Linked DNA regions of Homo sapiens: region 1 is linked to region 2. Evidence: promoter capture Hi-C in human tissues and cell types (Jung and others, 2019). All regions are on one chromosome and are shown on one strand. The core of a region is centred on a gene start or on the middle of the fragment in contact, and the rest is flanking DNA. Distances in the headings are between cores, read along the strand shown. Region 1 overlaps PPP1R12B (protein phosphatase 1 regulatory subunit 12B). Region 2 holds the start of LGR6 (leucine rich repeat containing G protein-coupled receptor 6).

The links. Contacts are between HindIII fragments. The study calls those that stand out against the background at their distance.
Region 1: a contact is called between a fragment that was not itself captured here and the fragment with the promoter of LGR6 in region 2, in 1 of the 25 tissues and cell types used here (neural progenitor cells).

The regions. Positions count from the first base shown.
Region 1 is chr1:202,585,120-202,590,407 of GRCh38, forward strand. PPP1R12B (protein phosphatase 1 regulatory subunit 12B) reads left to right here. Exons shown (of 24, transcript NM_002481.4): 24 at 1-5,288. Among named protein-coding and RNA genes, the nearest start is that of SYT2, 120 kb to the right of the region's middle. RefSeq lists enhancers at 3,670-4,869, 4,275-4,324. The HindIII fragment of the contact is 7,763 bases long and covers 1-5,288 here.
Region 2 is chr1:202,192,236-202,197,667 of GRCh38, forward strand. LGR6 (leucine rich repeat containing G protein-coupled receptor 6) reads left to right here and starts at 1,564. Exons shown (of 18, transcript NM_001017403.2): 1 at 1,564-1,966. The coding sequence starts at 1,755. It overlaps LOC124904840 (small nucleolar RNA U13), which reads right to left; the gene lies at 5,393-5,432. RefSeq lists enhancers at 150-953, 648-697. The HindIII fragment of the contact is 27,919 bases long and covers 1-5,432 here.

The sequences.
Region 1 (5,288 bases), core at 2,431-4,930, 400 kb after region 2:
CGAGCAGCTAGGACTGCAGGTGTGCACCACCATGCCCAGCTAATTTTTGAATTTTTTTGTAGAGATGGGGTTTTGCCATGTTGCCCAGGCTGGTCTGAAGCTGCTGGGCTCAAGCAATCCACCTGGCTGGGCCTCCCAAAGCGATAGGATTACAGGCGTAAGGGCCCACGCCCAGCCTACCATACTGATTTTCAAGGCAGGGTCTAACCCTTCATAAGATGTGAGTTCTTCCAACCCAATAAGCAGGCAGCTTTGAGGACAAAAAGGCAACATTAAAAGATAAGACCCTAGAAGTCAGAACATCTGTATTCCAAGGCCACCCCTTCTCCTTTTAGTCATGTGACTTTGGGCAGGTCACCCTCCCTGTCTGTAAAATGAGGTTGGACTGGATAATCTTTATGTGCCCTTTCCTTTTGGCTTAAAATTCTGTGATTTATTCATTCTTAGGAAGATCAGCATATTTATTGGGATTTCTGCTTCAAAAATTCTTTCTAACCTCAAAAATCCAAGTCCAGAATTTTTTGTTTTCTTCTGGATTTAAACTGTTTAATATGAGCACATCAAGGTTGACTTCTCATCCTTTTTGGGAAGTGAATTTAATATTGAGGGTAATTGAATGATGTTGCAATGGCTTTCCCTCCTGCTGGCTTGGTAAGAATATTAAAGCCTGCAGAGGTGGAAATTGGAGCTCATGGAGAAATGGATAGAAAGCAATTTGTTGCAGGCAGCCTTTGGACAAGTTGTTTTAATAGGAAATAGACCTGCTGCTTCATAGGTTTCCTCAACCACCTTTCCTCAGCTTTCTTAAAATGGGATCTACATTGGCTCTTCACACCCAAATAGCAGACTAATCGTTTTTCTGCTTAGCACCGTCTGGTTCATTGTCTTGAACTCTGCCTTACAGCAGCAAGAAAATTTTCCTCGACAAGAACCTCAATCTTTAGTTCCATTGAGCTCCCCCTCTGGATTTTGGACTTACCAGAAGTAGGAGGTTCTGATACCATTCAAGATGGTCTTTCCTTCAAAGCAGGTCTGAAGAGGAGACTACCAAAGCAGTGTTTACAAACCCAGAGTCCACACAACCATATTGCATAGAACAGCACTTGGCTTTCACAAGCCTCCTACAGGACCTGGTGTAATTGGAGTGAAAGGGCAGAGACCCTGGAAGTGGAGGTGGCTGTGTGCTGCGATGGGAAGAAGGCAGAAGGCCCAGGGGCTTTGGACATAGAGCAGGGTGGAAGCTGCAAGTACTGGGAAGGAAGAGAGTTTCACAGAAACAAAGCTTTGTCACACAGAAATGAGTTCTGTCTCACTGGTGACTTCATCCCTCAGGCTCCAGCTGAGCAGAGATTTTAATCAGCTTCCTTAATGGGTATTGACACTGCTCAGGAAGCAGTAGACCCTGTCAGGGACAGCTATTGATCTTTTGTGTTCTGATTAGATTGGAAAATAGATCAACTTCATTGTAGTCCAGGAACTGTTGGTCACAGCTACTAGGAATGAGGTGATTTCTGAGGGCTGAGAAAAAACACAGAATCTTGGCCAGCAGCCAGCAGCTGCATGGTGAAAGATGCATTCACTTCTCCTTTGAGAGTTGGGGTTGAGGGCAAACATAGAACCCAGGTTTGGCTTACAACCCAGTGTCCCGGAAGCCCTCCTTCGGGAGAACTGTAAGTAAGAGGTGGGTGTGTCTAAAGACAATACCATTAATGAATGTTCTGGCCTTACCTAAAAAGGTTTAGCAATTTGGGGATAACTCTTGGATCTAGCTTATGTGCGTTCACATGCACATTTGCTAGCCCAGAGCTTTTAAAATGAGGTCTGGCATATACTTGATTACAAATGAAAACTCAGAAACCAATTTTATTTATTAAATCATATCTTTTGTTTTTCCCCCTCCCTTCTAATCCCCCAAAGGACCTATTTGAGCTGTTCCCCAATTCATCTGCTTATTTTGGACCATGAATCTGCCAGAGTGATATTTTCTGTTATTTCTCCTCCAAATTTTTCCCTGATGTTTCCAATAAAGATTTACTTGGGTGGCCCCTTAAGGTGACATCAGGATGCTCTTATGTCCTTCCAGAATAAGCATACACTTCACTCCTCTCCCTTTCATCTCCCTCTGCATTCTTAATTCCTTGCTTTTCTCACTTGGAGCCGAGGGTGCTTTAGAGAGGTGGTTTTCCATGAATCAGCCAAGATTCCTGTAGAAGTTGGGTATACCAACCACCACCACCACCGCCCCCTATTCCAGTTTCAAAGCTCCTCGGCTATGCTAATGTCCCCTCAGAGATGAGGTTTGACTTTTAGGCCCGTATGACTCCTCCATAGCCTGGCCAAGGAGACCATGAGTAGCCATGTCTGGTTTACTCTTTATCCTGAGACTGTTTATAGCTTAAAACAGAAGTGTGTCTTCCCAGCACAAACCTAATCAATCAGTGTATCAGTGCATCTGGTGGCAACAGCTCAGCCCATTCAAAGAGCAAGGATTCAGGAAAGGCACACTGATGGTGGGGAGCCTCTTAAGAGCCTCTAATGTTCTCCCAAAACCAGAGTTGAGAGTCGGAGTGCCAGTCGTCGGGGCCCACTATTCCTGAATAAGGGACATGCAAGGGCCAGAAGTAGCTTGACTCTCGCCTAAATATCTGTGCCTTTGCCTGTCCTTTCTCCCACTCTACTGAAACCCGGAACAGATTCCCGCTTGCCTTCTGATGAAGAGAGGTTAGGTAAAGAGAGTTTGGAGGAAAAAAGACACCAGGAGGCAGGCTGCGGGGTAGGAGAGGGTTCTGAGAGGAGGCAGCAATCCAGAATACCTCCTTTTCTAGCCAGCATCCCTTGAACTTTTGAAAGGTTGTGCCTACCACTGGCTGGCACACCAGGGCAATGATTTCCCTGCAGAAGGAAGGAAAGAATGTTTCACCCTTGCATCCTTCTTGGAGAAGCTACAGCCTGTGCTCAGTTGAGTGGTTCACACTCAGACTTTGGCTTTATGGTTTTCCTTCCTCCTTGTCTTTGCCCTGACCTTGATCAACAGGGGTGAAAAGAACCACCCTGAGGTTTCCATGCCTCTCCCATTTTAGTGGTAGCATTTTGTGTCTTTACTCCACCCTTCACCCTAGTTCCACCAAGGTTCACACACCAGATGTAACTGTTTTTCAGCTGAGTTGTATGGATTAACTTCAGTCCACTGTAAATACACCTGGGATGGGGTGGGGTTGGGGTTGTTTAGGGAGAAGCAGCCAGACTTGCTTTGTGAACTGAATGTATTTTTATGCAATTTTGAGTGGCCTTTCAACCCTAAGATGAATGGTTTTGTTTTACTGGTTGTTGTTATATAGTTTTGAGTATTCTGTGTTTGAAAGTTTGGGAATAATAATATTCACTTCTATATGATGCCTGTAAACACAACAGTATTTATAAATGAGTAAATAAAACTGTGTTTTAACTTTGTGACTGTCTCCACAGTTCAGAGCATGGGATTTCTAGAATCTCACATCTGGGGCAGCCTCTTCTGATTTTACATCTTATCATTGGTGGGGGCCTCGCCCACCAGCCTCCTACAACTCCTGTCCACATAGAGGCCCCTTCCCCAGGGACAGCCACAGTGAGTCATGGCCACTGAGAAGGGTCTCTGGTAGTATCAAGGAATTTCCTAAATGGAGTCAGGCCAAGGAGAAGCCTAGATTGGCGTTCAAAAGAACCGTAAGATAGATAGATAGATAGATAGATAGATAGATAGATAGATAGATAGATATCAAGGTTCCAAGCTTCAAGTAACCAAGAGTATATACGGTTATTTCTTGGAAGACACCAGGTTTAAGTGACAAAGGTGTTGAGGCCATCCAGGTGAACACTAGCACACTCTAGTACATGGGAAAGTTGAGGTCTAGGGAGGTGGTGATTTCCTTGGGCTCATGGAAGTCTCCTGCCATCACCCTTAGTCATCTGCTATATCCATAAGTCTTCATGAGGTCATTGTTTAATTCAGGAGATCCAAAACTATCCTGTAGTTCCAAACTACAAATGTAGTTAACTTGGGGGCTATTGAAGGTTAAATCTAAACTCAAAATGAAGGAGCCATGCCCAGAGAAGAGCTGTTCAGGCCCGCTGGCAGGGTTTGTACGTGGGTGGCCAGGTCTGACCCCAGGCAGCCAGGATCTGGGTCTGGTTTCTCCATCCAGCAAGCCCTGCCTCTGGCTTTGCTCAGCCCTGTGTTTCCTGCCAAGCGGAAATCCCTGGTCACTGACTTGGGGAGAGGTCAGGGAGGGAAGATTCTTCTCCCCTGATGTCACCCAGCTGTTTGTAACCCAAGCAGCAGCAGAACAAGCACACTTGATGTCATGGTTGAAGAATTCAGTCCTGTCCTGGGGCACAAAACAGAGGCAAAGAAGCATGACCGATGCAAAGGGTTCCTAGACTGCAAATGTCATTTCTCTTTCTGACCCCCACTGGTTGTAGTAAGGTCTGCAGATACAGTATCACCTAGCCGTCACGTGGTCCAGCCCTCTTGGGGGGAAAGGAGAAGGCCACAACCTATTGGCAGAGTAAAAAGCTCATATTCTTAGCCAGGAGACCCTCAGGTGATAAATCCCAGTCCGTCTGCTGAAAGGCTCATGCCCCTCACCCTACCCAGCCTTAGGGACTGAAGCAGCAAGACAGGATAGATGTTAAAGGATCTGGGCTCATGCTCCCTCAGGTGGGCAGCTCCCATCCCTGCTTGCATTCACTGCCCCCATGCCTTTGGACCTGATGGACAAGCACACATCTAGCCAACGGTGTTCCTGGAGGACAGGTGCTGGTGTAAACTGACAAAAATGGTAGCTGCTGGTCTATCCTCAAGGAGAGGAGACAGGTGGAAGTGGGAACCGAAGAAGGAGTTTTACTCTTCCCTGGTCTTTGGGGGCAATGCTGTCCCACTCTCCCTTTCCCTAAAAATTCTGACGCCCTATCCCTGGTCCCTAACATCTTTGCTTCAGAAGTTAAAGACATTTCAAGTTATTTGCAAAGAGTCAACTGAGGACTTTGTAGAAATTGTTACTTTTCAAATTCCCACTTCCCAGGGCCAGCCTCCCTCTCGTCATTGGGCTCAGACTGTGGCTGTTCCCTAAGCCCAGCTCTACTGGAAGGGAATTCAAGAATATAGTCCCCACCACCACCCCGCCCCGCCCAGCCTCCCAGACAATGTTCCCCGGCACCACCACACTCCCCACAGTTCCACAGCCTGGCATGTGTTCTCAGGAGATGTGTGGGCCCCAGCACCCACCAGAGTGCCAATCTGGTCTTCCCCC
Region 2 (5,432 bases), core at 314-2,813:
CACCTCGGGAGGCCGAGGCTGGCGGATCACTCGCAGTTAGGAGCTGGAGACCAGCCTGGCCAACACAGCGAAACCCCGTCTCCACCCAAAAAATACGAAAACCAGTCAGGCGTGGCGGCATGCGCCTGCAATTGCAGGCACTCGGCAGGCTGAGGCAGGAGAATCAGGCAGGGAGGTTGCAGTGAGCCGAGATGGCAGCAGTACAGTCCAGCTTCGGCTCGGCATCAGAGGGAGACCGTGGAAAGAGGGGAGAGGGAGAGGGAGAGCGAGAGCGGAGGCTCGTCTTCTACTTTCAGCGCCATGGCACCAACTGGAGGCCTAGGGTCAAGGTCTGCTCATTTCTTGGTCCAGCTATGCAGCCCCTCTAGCCCTGGGAGGTTATTGGGAGAGTGGAGAGGTGTTGATGAGAGGATCCTGGCATGTGGAAAGACAGGGTGGAAGAAATCCTGGATGCCTCTGAGGTCCCAGGTTTCTAGTATACCCTCTGGCTGGACCATGGGGAGATAGGGCAAAAAAAGGAAGGAGGGGGGCCCACAGCCTGCTCTAGCTCTGCGCGGGGGCTTGGCTCAGCATGGGAGAGACCAGAGAGAGCAAGAGGCTGCATGAAGGAAGCACAGCCAGCTCACTATGGTCTAAGGAGAGAACAGGGATTGACCTCAGTTTTAACCACCATGCCCTTTGCTCTCCAGGGCTCTGGGGCCGGCCCAGGTCAGCCACTTGGTGGGATTCCAGCCTCAGGGTGGCTGAGCTGCAGGTGCAGCACCCGGCCTCCAGGTGGCACCAATCCGCTTACTTTGAGGTGGGCTCTGACAACCAGCTGAGCTGCCCACAGTCCCTCAGACTCCCGAGGTCCTGGGAGCAGGGATCAAGGTGGTCCCCAGGCCGTAAACCTGACAGAGGCTGCAGGAGTGCATTTCCACCCAGGGTGCACTCAGCGGGTGTAACTCCACACCCGTTTCTTTGGAGTCAAGGCCCGGCCTCTCAGTGAGGAGACTGCTCCTGGTTGCCCACCGTCGGGTCATCCCAGCCTGCAGTGGAACCCTCCGCAGCCTGGCCTCTTCCAGGGTAGCCCCTCACTCCCCTCTCTCCTGTCCTAGCAGACAGGCCAGGGAGGGTGGACGAGTTCCAGCTCTGGGGATGTCCCATCAGCTGTGTCACCTTGAACAAATCATTTTGCCTCTTGGGTCTCAGTTTCCTGCAGTGTGAAACGTGGTGGAGGCATGAGGGGCAATGGGAGCCCCAAGGCCTCTTTCAGAGACCTCCTCTGGGTCCCATGTGACCTCGTGGCTGTCCCCAAAGGCAAGAGGGTCCCCAGCCCTGCGGCCAAGGCCCTGGGACACCCTATCCAAACAAATGCAGGTCTCTGACGGGCTGAGCTTTGCTCGCTTGGGTTTCTTTGCTTTCTTCCTTTTTTTTTTTTCTTTCCTGGATGAAATTCCTGCCAGCTCCGAAGGAAGGAGGGAAGAGGAGCGAGCCGCAGTGTAGAAAGTTTCCTTGACTCCTCCTCCGGCTGGGTCTCCCTCCCTTGCCAAGCCCAGCCTGTGAAACTGAATAACGAAGATCACTCAACAATGCCTGCCCCTCTCTGACTGCACCGTCCCGGCGCTCCCACCGCCGCCGCCGCCGCCCAATAGAGCCCCTGGGGCGGTCCCCACCGACGGTGCAGCCCGCCGGGACCGGGAGGAAGCAGCTGCGGCCATCGCGCCGTGCGTCCGCGCCCGGCCGCCAGGTGCCCCAGTAGCCCGACCGCCGAGATGCCCAGCCCGCCGGGGCTCCGGGCGCTATGGCTTTGCGCCGCGCTGTGCGCTTCCCGGAGGGCCGGCGGCGCCCCCCAGCCCGGCCCGGGGCCCACCGCCTGCCCGGCCCCCTGCCACTGCCAGGAGGACGGCATCATGCTGTCTGCCGACTGCTCTGAGCTCGGGCTGTCCGCCGTTCCGGGGGACCTGGACCCCCTGACGGCTTACCTGTGAGTACTGCCCGCCTGTCCCCGCCTGGTCCTGCGGGCTGCTGGCTAGCGCCCAGTCCCGGCCTCAGCAGGGCACCTGCTTGCTTGGTGCCCTGGGGCATGGGCATCCCGGAGAGGGTTTGCCCCCTTCCAAGTTGACCGTTGCGGGACTGGGGAGGGGAGAAGAGTCTGAGACTAAATACCAGGCGAGCAGGGAGACCGGGCTTCCCTGACTTGGCTTCCCCATTGGCCTCCGTGCTTGTGGGCTGACTATGGGAGCCCAGGCTTGGCGAGGTGGGTTCTGGACCCTGAGCGGGAGGGCGCGGGGCTGGCTGCTCCATCTCCTGTTGCTGCATTCTCTTCTAGCAGAGCAGTGCCCGGGATGGTGGCTGAGGGTAAAGCTGACAGAACTGGAGGTGGAGGTGAGGGGAGCGTGCCCCAGTAGGGTGGAAATAATGTCTGTTCTTCTGCCATGGTGAGGACAACAGGGCTGTCACACTGAGGCTGGGTGGCCTTCGTGGGGGCGGGGGGGGCGGGTTTCCTAGAAGCTGGGAGGGGGGCCTTATCCACTCTTGTCTCCTCAGAAAGGGACTCTGCCAGCACCATCTCCCTTCACTGGGGCCTCCTGGCTCCCCCAGGGGCCTCCCTAAAGTCATGTCCCAAGAGGCTGTGTTGGAGACACTAATTTGTGGGCAGGCGCCGAGGCTGAAAACCAGAGAACCATTTTTAGCGTCTGAGTTGGGGTGAGATGGCGCGTGAAGGGGACCCTACTGGGGGCAGCTGTCCTGTCTGTCTGGCTCATGGGAGCTTCCCCTCAGAGCTGGAGGGCTGGGGGCTCTGGCTGCTCACCACCTGGGCAGGAGGAGGGTGAGAGAGCACATTCCAGGCCACCCACCTGCACCCCCAGCCCCGCTCTGGGGCAAGGAAACCTCCTCCAGCCCAGCTCTGCAGGCTCTATCAACTTCCTCAGAGGAGCTGGGAGCAGGTGGGAAAGCCTGGTGGGGCCTTCTGCTGAGGGCTAGGATCCCAGAGTTCCTTCTGGCCTGAGAGAGGCTCCTTATGGCTTTGGGGTTCCAGCACATGGGAGCTTAGAGGAAGAGGAGGCTGGGTGAATCTTTATAGGGGCCTAGCAAGAATTTGTGGAACTAAAGATGCTCAGTGTTGGGAGTGTCCTGGTGGGAGGTAGAGGGTCCCAGAGGGCAACTCTTCATGGGGCTCCTCTCCAAATGTCCCTGTCCCCAGGTTGGGATGTCCCCCTCCACTCCAAAAGGCACAGGCTGTGGGCCAGGTAAGGGAGTGGGAAGAGAAAAATAATGTCCATCTAGAAGGACAAATGGAATCCTTCACAGTGCAGTAGGTGACGGCAGAGGCAATCATGGGAATAAAGGTACCAACTGCACAGAGCCTGGGCGCTCAGCATCTGGCAAAGCAGGGCAGGCTCCGGCCCCACCCTACACACAGGCCAGCCCCTCTTTCAGCAGTTTTCTATCCTGGGAGTATGTGACATTGGTTCATTTGAAGACAGGGTCCTGTGGCTAAAGAGTTTAGATGTGACTTCTGTGGAGCCTTTCTCTGGGTGAGCTGAAGGAAGGTCCCTTGCCTGGGTTGAAGGGGCAGGGGAGATAAGGCCTTCCAGAGCTTCCTTTCCCAGCATTAAGTCTTCCTAGACTGGTTAATGACCCTTTTTCTAGAAGGACTTGGGGAAGGAGGTACACTGTCACCTTTGGAATTCAAGCATCCTACCATCCATGCTGGCAGAAGTTTTTCCCACTAGCTTGCCACAATTCCCTCGGAGCTGTGAAGTCTGCATTTGGGTTCAGTGGAGGTGGGGTTTTCTGAGCTGGTCTGTGTCTTCCTGGGGATTGAGAAAGCCCCTCTCTCTCAAGACTCAGGGGATGCTTCTGAGAGTTGTGGAGAGAAGAGAGGGAGTGGGAGCTATAAAGAGTATGATGGGTCCTGAGGCAATATGGGGAATTTAGCAGTGGGGTCTGGAATATTGGAAGGAGGTGGCAGAGGACCGTGTCCCCTGCCCTGGGCTGGGGAGGGGTCCCATCTGGATGGTGCATGAAGGATTCCTACAGTTGTCCTGAGGGTGTCTCAGAGGAGGAATTTTCTTTCTTTGCCCTCTCTGGAGAACAGCTCTACCAGAAAGGCACCTGAAGGTGGGGTTGAGAGCTGGCATGCAGAAGAGCCAGGGTGGGGAAGTCTTGGGGCTCCTTTCTCTTTTCAGCGATGTTAGGAGATGTCCAGCTTGGCCCTGCCCCATGTATCCCAGCCCTTGCTGAGGAGAGCACAGATTCGCATCTGATGATATAATCAGCAGTGCCTCTCTCTGAGCCACTCAAACTTTGGTTCCTTCCTAGCTCTGCCACCTACTGAGAATCACTCACTGAACACCTCTAAGCCTCAGGTTCTTCATGTGTACATGGAGATGAGGAAGCAGGTTGCTGAGTGGATTAAATGAGATAATATGTTCAATGAAAGTCCCCAGAGTGCCTGACACCCGAGGGTAACTCTGAAATGGTGGCTAGTATTATCATGCCTCCTATGGGTGCTCCATGGAGGTGGAGGTAAACTACCAGGCCTCTCCACACCAGAAGAAAATTGAGCCTAGTGGGTGAGTGTAGAATTCAAGGGAATGGTTTGTGGCTGGAGGAAGAGAGCTGTGTGCTGGGGAGGTGACTGTCAGGGCAACTCTTGATCAATACTTGGCTGGTTCTGGGGACTTGGAGCCCAACCAGTTGGTGAAAATTGGGGGTTGGGGATCGGGAGGGAGAGTGGGGACTTAGGTCCTCCTGACACAGAGTTAAAATGAAAAATGTTAAAACACTTGGACATGCAGGAAGTAGCAGGCCAGAGAAGACTCGAAGATCCTTAGAAGAAGCCATAGACAGAACTATAGGAGGCGCCCAGGAGCTATGGGCTCCAGAAGGTACCCGCAAGTCCTCTTGCACATTCCTTGACCTGGTCTCAATAAAAATGACATCACATCTCTTCCCCCACTCCACGGCTGTGAGATTTTCTCCTTCTAGCCAATACCTTTCATGAGGTAGGTGCTTCCACCTCTCCATCTTGGTTCTAGGGAAGACCAGAAAGGCGTCTTTATAGCCAACTGGTATTCTTTGCCTTGACACACATGTCCAAAAACTATTACCACTTTTGGGCTCAATGCCAGCCCTGTTTGATCAAGGTTGGGAAGACGGACTTCAGATACTCACAATCCTCCATATGTCTCTCTTTTTTGCAACAGTTTCCTCTTAAACTATAGTCTCAGCGAGGCTCATTGACACTCACCGGGGTTTTGACATTCTCCCTGGTTAGGGCCTGTTCTGGAAATAGACCAAGAGGGAGATGGAGCCCCTGGCTCTGGGACATCCAATCTGATGGTGACGAGAAGGCATGATGCCTCTTGTTCTATTCTTTTTTCTTTCTTCTTAAAAAAAAAAAAAGAAGACCAGTAATGTGCTGACTTCATAACAAGGTTTGA